Regions from separate parts of the Homo sapiens genome. Here regions 2, 3 and 4 are each linked to region 1. Evidence: promoter capture Hi-C in 16 types of primary human blood cells and fetal thymus (Javierre and others, 2016). All regions are on one chromosome and are shown on one strand. Each heading gives the region's core, a stretch centred on a gene start or on the middle of the fragment in contact. The rest is flanking DNA. Distances are from core to core; before and after follow the strand shown. Region 1 holds the start of SLITRK3 (SLIT and NTRK like family member 3). Region 2 overlaps ZBBX (zinc finger B-box domain containing). Region 3 has its middle 260 kb from the start of LINC01192. Region 4 has its middle 240 kb from the start of LINC01192.

What was found. The method cuts DNA at HindIII sites, captures the fragments that hold promoters and counts their contacts. A CHiCAGO score of 5 or more calls a contact.
Region 2: a fragment that was not itself captured here is called in contact with the fragment with the promoter of SLITRK3 in region 1 in 1 of 17 cell types (M2 macrophages); the score reaches 6.4 in M2 macrophages.
Region 3: a fragment that was not itself captured here is called in contact with the fragment with the promoter of SLITRK3 in region 1 in 1 of 17 cell types (M0 macrophages); the score reaches 6.3 in M0 macrophages.
Region 4: a contact is called between a fragment that was not itself captured here and the fragment with the promoter of SLITRK3 in region 1, in 1 of 17 cell types (M2 macrophages). The highest score is 6.8, in M2 macrophages.

The regions. Positions count from the first base shown.
Region 1 is chr3:165,195,090-165,197,659 of GRCh38, reverse strand. SLITRK3 (SLIT and NTRK like family member 3) reads left to right here and starts at 1,276. Exons shown (of 2, transcript NM_001318810.2): 1 at 1,276-2,080. The HindIII fragment of the contact is 7,642 bases long and covers 1-2,570 here.
Region 2 is chr3:167,353,082-167,355,651 of GRCh38, reverse strand. All of the region lies in intron 8 of ZBBX (zinc finger B-box domain containing), which reads left to right. Among named protein-coding and RNA genes, the nearest start is that of ZBBX, 26 kb to the left of the region's middle. The HindIII fragment of the contact is 1,033 bases long and covers 756-1,788 here.
Region 3 is chr3:163,046,000-163,048,569 of GRCh38, reverse strand. No RefSeq gene overlaps it. Among named protein-coding and RNA genes, the nearest start is that of LINC01192, 260 kb to the left of the region's middle. The HindIII fragment of the contact is 3,037 bases long and covers 1-2,570 here.
Region 4 is chr3:163,062,953-163,065,522 of GRCh38, reverse strand. No RefSeq gene overlaps it. Among named protein-coding and RNA genes, the nearest start is that of LINC01192, 240 kb to the left of the region's middle. The HindIII fragment of the contact is 1,296 bases long and covers 652-1,947 here.

The sequences.
Region 1 (2,570 bases), core at 27-2,526:
CCCAGGCTACCTTCTATTCACTTTGGGAGTTAGTGGAAGACTGCCCTCTTTCCAACACAGTCTCTGATGAAAGGGATCTATTAAAAAGAATTGCGTTGGTTTACACTGCAGATTGAATGGAGCATTAAACGAATGACTGCATTAGTATGACTGCAGTGGGGGTAATGGTCGCCTCTGTAATGTTGTAATAATACTTTCACATACGTGTTATTACACGTATTAATTGTTCCAGTGTCCGTATCTAATTTATCGCGAAATGGTATCCAGCATCTCTCAGGCAAATGCCCCCCTCCCAACTCCCTGTGCCCTACAGTTTTATGCCCCCCGCCCCCGGCAAATGTAAACAGATGAGGAAATATGTGTACTTTCAAATCGTCACCCATGTATCATGAAGGTGGGGGATTACTGCAAATCACTTGGAAACCGCTCCCCGGAGGCGTTTAGCGATACCGCCCACCAATACAGCTCAGATGTTCTTAATTTGATCACCCTCCACCTTTTGGGCTGTAATTTTCCAAACAGGCATCTCTCTCATTTGCAAATAAAAGTTACAAATCAATCCACGGGTACAGAATGCTGACTTCCCGACACTCAATTTCACAGGGTGTCTCTTGAAGAGCTGCCAGGTTGTGACCGATAATGGGGGAGAGGGAAAGGCGGACAGCGAAAGCGAGAGAGAGAGAGCGAGAGCGAGAGCGAGAGAGAGAGCGAGAGAGAGAGAGACAGAGAGAGGAGAGAGAGAGAGAGAGAGAGAGAGAGAGACAGAGAGAGAGAGAGAGAGAGAGATCACTTGCTTCCTTGCTTCCTAAGCCGGGATTTTGCCTGCGATGCGCGGCGAGAGGACTGCGGCGGCTGATTTACACAGTTGGCGCGGAGGAGGGGCCGGGGGTGCGGGGGGGACGCGCTGGCGGAGCTCCGGCGATGGGCTGATCTGGGGGCTCCCGAGCGCCGCTCCCTTGGTGCGCGATTTGGGGGCGGCTGATGGATTTGCATTCAGGTTCCAGCCCTGCGTTTCCTATATTGACTCCTTATACACGACCTGGCGCTCCAGTTTAGGAGGAGACGTTGGTAAGTAACGTGTAATCCGATTTTAGTTATTTCCTAGGCCATTAAAGTGGCACTTTTAAAGCAGGTCAGTCTTAAAAGATGCCGCCGCCGCCGCCGCCGCGAGCGTCTCCTTGGCCTGAAACGTTCAGCAGTCCCCTCCCCCTCCCACCCCCCTCCCCCGCACCTTCTCCCGCTCGAGAAGTGAGGGTGCTTGAATGGTGAGCGGTCAGAGGACTCACTCTCTGCCAACGGTATCGCTTCACCTTCGTGCTTTGCCTGAGATCTCCCAAATCCAAGTGGAATTTGGTGTGCACAGCCATACTGTGTATTTGTATCTTCTCTCCCCCTCTCCTTCTTTCCCCCCACCTTCGCCGTCTGACCAATGCTGGGATCTGAGATCTAGTCGCCCCCTTCCTGCCTCCTTTCCGCCTCTCCCCACCCTTTTCTTCTCTCATCTACACGCCACCAACCCCCACTCCCACCCACCTAAAGGGCAAAGAGCAAAGACACCCTGGAAAAGCAAGGGCTAATTCCATCTTCTCGGATGGAAGGAGGCCTCGGGCAGGGATTGCGCTGTGAGTGACAACCTTTGAGGAAGAGAGAAAGAGAGAAATCCAGAGACTGAGCTCAGGCTCTCGGGAACAACGAAGCTCTCCACTGATCCAGAGCACCGAGATTTTAAATCAAAGGAACCTAGTCCTGGGACACTCACTCTGCCTGCCTGCCTACCAACCATCGAGGGCATAGGGAGCTGTGGTCGTGAGCTCCCTGTCGCTGGCATCGCCGCGCTAGGTGCGCGCCCCGCTCTCCCATTGGTATGCAGCGACCATTTCCCTGCAAGTCTCAAAGGTGGAAACATTTAAACGGATTACAAGCGTGATTCGGTAGCCTTTCGGAAAGTTGGTGGCCAGAAGAGGAGAAGCTACAAGGCTACAGTATGATGGATACAATTCAGCTTCGCAGAGAGTTTGCCCCTCCTGCTGGGTAGCCCCTCGCAGCAAACCTCGGAGATCCTGAGCGCTCTGCACCATAGGTACTCGCCGCCATCCTTTCCTACTTCGCCTAATTGAAACCAGTATTTCTCGTATGTAGGATGTGCATTGTAGAGCACATCGAGTTTGGCCGCGGTGTATTCTGTACGCTCACAGGTGCTAGGGGTTTGTTGCAGTTTTGAATTGGATCAGTTAGGTGTAAGGACGTTGGTGGAAGGAGGGGTACCGGAGACTAACATACCCTCGGACCTCTTTTCTGGGTGAAGACATCGTAAGTAACTCCAACAAATAGGCCAGGTGGCGGAGCGAAGGACCCCTCCCCCAGTGGAATGCTCGCTGGTGTTGTAAGAGGTAGAAGGAAAAAGGCTTGAGCTTTTAATAATTTTCCGTTTCTAAACAGACCATTGTGCGTTTCGCCTGACGACAGCAGATTAGAAAAGGCTCTATAGACGGCTCAAAGCTCTTCAGAAAATGAATGATGCAGCGTTTTAATTATTTGTTCTAGGGAAGATAGTTTTGCTTCCATATTGG
Region 2 (2,570 bases), core at 23-2,522, 2.2 Mb before region 1:
CATATGGTTATGCTGACTGGATAATGAGTGAATATATATATTTGAAAGCCACATATGTGTATATATGAATATATATATAAAGGATATATATATCTATGTATATAGATATAGATATATGTATATCCTTGGCCTTCACCAGGGAAAATTGTGTATGGGAGATAGGAGTTAAGGGCTTGTGTTTTGGGAGTTTGAAACTCAACTTTACCTGTTATTAGCTATGTGACCTTCAGCAAATGACTTAATCCCTCTTTATCTCTGTTTCCTCATTTGTGAAATAGGTTACTACGGATAACAGTAATCTGTACCTCAAAGTTATCACACGTAATGAGTTAATACATGTAAAATATTTAGCATTGTGTCCAGCACATAGACGGAAGACAATAAACAGTGTGTTTTGTTGTTGGCAAATTTTTAAATGACCTATCCATTTACATATATTGATGGCAAAGACGAAGCCCAAAAGTTCCACTTTTCTTATATATTAATTTGGCAAATGTGAATAATTTAATTAAACTCAAATGGATTCTGAAGCTTAGCACAACTGATCTGGCATTCATCAAATTAACAAGATATTTGTTAAAACTGCAGTTGGATATTCCATCATTGAGGAAGCATCTGTGGTGGGAAGGAGTCCTTATTTACATTTTTAGCATGTTTCTGCCAGTTGTACAAACTGCCTAAAAAGATTTTCCAATTGGAGGTCATTTTAACTCAATTTTAATCCAAATATCCTTGTATAACAAAATATATAAGCTTACTCTGCAAGTCCAGCATTGATCTTCCAGTCTACAAATATTCGTTTGGCTACTTTTACTAAAAGTATGTTGTTAACAGACACTTGGCTTAGAATTATATGCTGAAACTCATTTTCAGTTTTCTGCATTATAGTGTAAAAACAGTGCCAAATGTTTAGGAAAAATTCACTTAAAATTAGCAAGTTATATTAAATAAAAATTATGCAGAATATATTTTGAAATCCATATTAATATAATGATATAACCATGTATTTATATAAAATTATAGTTTTAAAGTTTATTTTACACTTAAAATTACGGATTTAGGATAATGTTTTTATCATTTCTCTAGAAGAATGAAGCTCATGAAACAAGAATGGAAAGAGGGGACTAGTTTCTATGCTAGGGATAGTGTTTTTTTTTCTTCAGATTAAGTAAAAATTCCATCATCTTTTAGCTAATCACACTTGAAAAACATACATTTGGATTTTGATACATACCAGACCATGCATTCTTTTTAAATACTGAATTTTATTTTATTGTGGATTTTATCAAGGTTTTTCGATATAAATGGTCCCTGACTTACCATTTTTCACTTACAATTTTTTGACTTTATGATGTGTAAAAACAGTATGTATTCAGTAGAAACCATACTTCAAAGTTCGAATTCTGATATTTTCCCAGGCTAGTGATATGTGGTAAAATACGATGCTAGGAAGCTCATAGTCAGCCATGTGATCATGAAGGTTAAAAAAAACACAAGATATTCAACAATTTATTATAAAATAGGTTTGTGTTAGATGATTTTGCTCAAATGTAGGCTAATGTAAGTGTTTTGAGCACATTTAAGGTTAGCTAGGCTAAGCTATGATGCTTAGTAGGTTATTTGTACTAAATATATTTTCAACTTACAATGTTTTCAATTTATGATGGGTTTATTGGGCAGTAGCCACATTGTAAGTTGAAGAGTGTCTGTAACTGATCACTATTTTAGTTTATTGTAAATGATTAATTTAAAGATTAGTAATGTTTGTTGTGGTTAAGGGTTTAAGCTTTGAGCCACATGGTAGGATTGAATTCCTGTCCCCACCACTATTAGCTTGTATGACTCTGGACAAATTCTTCATCATTATGTTCTTTTGTTATCTCTTCTTCATTATGGAGATACAAGGGTGATTGTAAATTTATAGAGTTGTTGTGAGGATTAAATGAGATAAAACATATAATATCACTGCTCTGTTATAATTTATTATTATTATTTTTATTTTTATAGATTTAGTTGGTACAAGTGAAGTTGTGTTATCTGGATATATTGTGTAGTGATGAAGTCTGGGCTTTTAGTACCCATCATCTGAATGGGAACATCATAGCCACTATGTAATTTTTCAGTCTTTACCCCTTTCCCACCCTTCCAATGTATGGAGTGTCCAGTGTCTATTTTTCTACTCTGTATGTCCATGTGTTTAGTTAACACCCATTGTTTAGCTCTCCCACTTACAAGTAATACATGCAGTATTTGACTTCTTGTTTATGAGTTATTTCACTTAGGATAATGGCCTCCATCTAGTTCCTTTCATGTTGCTGTAAAAGATGTAAAATCATTCTTTTTCATAGTGGAGTAGTATTCCATGGTATATATCTTACAATATTTTCTTTATCCAATCAATTGATGAGTGTGTCAGAGAAGCCATTAGGGTTTTCTAGGCATAAGATAACATCATTAGCAAACATAAATAATTTGACTTCCTCTTTTCCAATTTGGATGCCTTTTATTTCTTTCTTTTGCCTGATTGTTCTGGCTAGGAATTCCAGTACTATGTTGAATAGAAGTGGTAA
Region 3 (2,570 bases), core at 28-2,527, 2.1 Mb after region 1:
CTAACTTTTTTTTTTTCAATAAGCAGAGGAGTATCATCTAAAATAACAATAAAAATGTAGGATAGTAAATACATAAACAAGTAACATTGTTGTTTATTGACTACCATTAATTATTGTGTGTTCTGTACTATACATATTATATTATGTATTAAGTGTTCTGTACTGTACATGTTATATTTTCTATCATTTTGTATGACTGGCAAAGCAGTAGATTTGTTTACACCAGCATCACCACAAACATGTGAGGAATGCCTTGTGATAAAATGTTACCATGTCACTAGTCAATGGAAAATTTGTAGCTCCATTATATCCTTACTGAACCATTGTAGAATATGGGATCCATCACTGACTGAAATGTGGTTATGCGGAACATGACTACATGACTCTATCTGTTTATATGGGTTTTATACCTTAAATCTGAATTGTTGCTTATAGAGAATGCCTATCATGAGCTCTTAGACATATTCTGAAAGAGTTTTCCAAAGACAGTACCAAAATAGGTATACACATTTACTCTCCCACCAGCAATGTGTAAGAGCTCTGTTTTCTTTACATTCTTGCCGATACTAGGTCTTGTCAGCATTTTTCATTTAGCTCTCCTGGTGGGTGTTGTGTTGTATATAGCATCTCATTCTGAGTTTGTTTTGCATTTTACTATTGCTTGATGAGTTAGAACTTTTTTCTCTTTTTTTGGATATTTTGATATCTTCTTGTCTATAAGCCCTGTTCAAATCTTTTTCCAAATTTTCTATTAGATTGTCTTACTGATTTTAGTTTTGAAACAAGGTCGAATGTAACACCTTTATCATATATGTGTGTATGTATAGGTATATATGAATTAAATTTAAAATATTTTTTCCATTCTATGTTACATTTTTCACATTCTTAATAATAGATTAATTTATAATTTAAATATACTATACATTATCAAATTTTTCCTTTATAGTAGCAATTTTTGCACTCCTTTTCAGATATCTTTACTGAACTGAAAGACAATTATTCCCCTACATTTTATTCTAATAGACTTACTTTTGTACTTTTTAGATTAATATACATTCTATCTGAAATTGTTTTTTTGTGTAGAATGTGAGGAAGTTTTTTTTCCTTCTTTGTATATTCAATTGACCTAACATCATTTTCAAAAGGTCATTCTTCCTCCACTGCATTCCACTGCAATTTCTCCATTCCACAATGTCACTTTGTCCTGAGTCATGGCACTATATGTGTGAATTTGTTAATTCAACAATTTAAATCTTTTCTTCAGCCAGCACAAGTCTCCTTTGAAAAAATGCTTAAATAATTGTATATTGCTCTCTACCCCGAAAGATGAAGGGAGAGAGGACTATGTAAATTACCACAATGACTTTCAAACTTTTTTACTACAACTGAAAGATAGAAGTAAATTTTATATTGCAACCCAATATACACAGAACATAACACACACATACACACAAATACACACACACACACACACACACACAAAACCTGTGGGTGTTTGTAATTAAATGGCATGGGTTCTTCTTCTAAAGGTAGCATCTACTTTCCTTTAGAACCATTCTTGAACAAACTGTGTTCAAAACAGCTTCAGCAGAAAACGTTTTAAGAGGATGAAATGAAAAAAAAATTACTTTGTTTAGTACTTTCAGATATACATACATCCAAAAAATATATACAAGCATACTTATATATCATGCTCAGTAAGACAAGTATGTTAAACATATGCCCCATGGTCTTGAATAATGACTTGATTGTCTAATAAATCTTTATTATATTTGTAAAAAAAAATTACCAAAAAGGGAAAAAATTCAGAAATGTTTTTCAAAGTTATGATTGCTGGCAAGAAGTAAAGCAAATAGAGCTTATAAAAACCTACCATCATATAAACATTTAGCATGAAGGCCATAGATGTAATAGACGGACATCTATCTGTTGATGTTATCAACTCCTTTTATTTTCCTTTGTTCAATATTTCATGAAGGGTAAAGCTATATTGTAAAACTTTATCATTGCTCATGATAATGTATATTTAGATTTCAAATACATGTTTGTATGTAGATACATGCATACAGATGTGTGTGTGTGTTTGTGTGTGTGTATTTTAGTGACTGACTTACATTTTAGTAAAAGAAAAACAGAAAATATGAGAAGGCCATCATACTGAACAAATACAAAAGGAATATATACTCAATCAGGAAGTCAGACGTTGACTACTAGATATTTTTGAACTTCTTGCTATGGTACCACATACTGCTTAACCTCCATAAACTCTGCTACAGCCTATATTTACTCATTGTGGAGACCTAAGGAGTTAAAAGAAAACTGAAGCATGTGCTTAGCTGACAAAAATAGAAACAGGGAGAATATTCCAACAAATGGAGTCAACCACAAAAGGCCCACCAGCACCCAAGCATCCTGTTAACCATTGCTCAGCTCACAGCCCACCTGCACCCAGGCATCCGCTCTGCAAGCATTCAGCCTAAACAGCATGACCTTATAAACCGCTCCTGCATTATCAAATCAAAAATTTGATAATATGTATTATATTTAAATTATTAATTATCATCTAAAAG
Region 4 (2,570 bases), core at 50-2,549, 2.1 Mb after region 1:
ATTATTTTATGGGAGTCCAAGTCTCTTCCTAAGCCTCTAAGAAGTTACTTTATGAATCTGGGTGCTCTTGTGTTGGGTGCATATATATTTAGGATAGTTAGGTTTTTTAAAGTGAATTGATCCCTTTACCACATATATCTTAATGCCATTTTCTGGTCTTTCTTTTTTTTGGTATTTGTGGGTTGAAAGCCTGTTTTGTCTAAAATTAGGATTGCAACCTTTGCTTTTTTCTGTTTTCCACTTGCTAGGTTCATTTTTCTCTATTCCTTTATTTTGAGATGGGTGTCATTGAATGCAAGATAGCTCTCTTGAAGACAGAATACATTGTGTTTTTTTCTTTATCCAGCATGCCACTCTGTGACTTTTAATTGGAACACTTAGTGTGTTTACAGTCAAGGTTAGTATAAATATGTGTGGATTTTATCTTGTCATTGTGTTAGGTAATTGTGGTGCAGACTTGTTTCTGTGGTTGCTTTATAGTATCACAGGTCTATGTACTTAAGAATGTTTTTGGATTGGCTGATCATTGACCTTACTTTCCATATTTAGTGTTCCTTTAAGGACCACTTACAAGGCAAGTCTGGTGGTAAATAATTCTCTCAGCATTTGCTTCTCTGAGAAGGATCTTATTTCTCTTTCACCTTTGAAGCTTAGTTTCACTAAATATGAAATTCTTGGTTTGAGGATTTTTGCTCTAAGAATGTTGAATATTGGCACCCAATCTCTTCTAGCCTACAGGGTTTCTGCTGAAAAGTGTGCTGTTAGCCTGATGGGGTTGTCTTTGCAGGTTACCTGGCCTTTCTCTCTAGCTGCTTTTAACATATTTGTCTTTCATTTGGACCTTGGAAAATCTGATAATTATGTTTCCTGGGGATGATAGTCTAGTGTATTATCTTGCAGGGAATTCTTTGCATTTCTTAAATTCAGCTGTTGGCCACCTCTCTGGCAAGTTTTGGGACATTTTCATCAATAATGTTTTGAAATATATTTTCCAAGTTGCTTGCTTTCTCCCCATTTCTTTCAGGGACACCAATGATTCATCAATTTGGCCTCTTTATGTAATTCACTATTTCCTGATGGTTTGTTCATTCCTTTTTATTCTCTTTATTTTTGTCTGACTGTCTATTTCAGAGAGACAGCCTTCATGCTCTTAGATTCTTTTCTCAGCTCAGCCTATTCTGTTGTTAATACTTGGCAATTGCTTTATCAAATTCTTGTAGTATGATTTTCAGTTCTATTAGTTCAGTTAGGTTCTTTTGTATACTGGCTATTTCATTTGTCACCTCTTGTATCATTTTATTGTGAATCTTAGCTTCCTAGAATTGGGTTTTGACATTTTCCTGAATCTCAATGATCTTCATTTTTATCCATATTCTGAATTCTGTTTCTGTCATTTCAGCTATTTCAGCCGAGTTAAGAGCCCTTGTTAGAGAATTAGTTCAGTCATTTGGAGGACAGAAGGCTCTGACCATTTGAGTCACCGGAATTCTTGCACTGATTCTCATCTCTGTGTGTAAATGTTTCTTTAACTGTGATGTAGATTGAATACAGTCAGTAGAATTTTTTTCTGGATGTTCCCAGAAGGCCAAGGATTCATGCAGCATCTTTGTTTGCAGCTGACTTCGTGTCTTTGGTTTCACAGCAGGGTATGTTAGCAAAGTACTTTTGGTGTTGAATTTTGGGGGTAGAATACAGTAGGTTAGTAGGTGGGCTCTCATTCCAGTATGTGGACTGTCATTCTAGTAGGTGTTTAAGTGTAACTGCCAGTTAGTAGGGCACAGTAGGTGGGCTCTCATTCTAGTAAGTGTCTAAGTGTAATTGTCAGTAGGTAGGCTCTTGTTTAGTCACGTGTTTTTTTCTATATTTCCTTGCAGCTGTAGCTGTGCTCCCTCTCAATGCTCTGAAAATGTGGGTTCCTCTCCCACTTGAGAGCTGCAGATCAAAGCTTGGCACTGCACACCACAGCTCTAGATCCTGCCCAATGAGGAGAAATGGGATTGGGAACCTGTGTAAAATGGTCTGACTGCCTTTCCATAGGATGGCTGTGCTGTGCTGGCAATCTGCTTCAGGCACTGGTTACCTTGGACTCCCCAGAGCCTGAAGACAGCAGCTGTGAAGGCTACAAAAGAGCAAAATGGTGGCCTGCTCCTCTCTGTGGGTACTCTGTTTCAGGGAGATGCAGTCCTTCCTGGCCTGAGAACTGCAGCAGGTGTGTCTGGAGCCCCTGGTCAGGAGGTCTTGCCAAGGGAGAAGAAATGGGATCAGGGACCCATGCAAAAAATGGCCACTTCTCCACAGGGAAGTCATGCTGCACTGAGGGTCCACTCCAGTTCTCAGTCCCCTCAGACTCTATAGAGTCTGAAAGCAGCATCAGGGAAGGCTGGAAAACAGTAAATATGGTAGCCTGCCCCTCCATCTGGAACCCCAGTGTCATAGATGTGGAGCATTGGTGCTCGCCAAAGTACACAGGCCATGGGAGGCTGGAATCCCAGTTAAATGGGTCTTGTCCTGTGAGGTGCCATGGAAGCGAGACTGCAGGCCATTGCTGCCCAGCCCCCTGGACTCAGTTC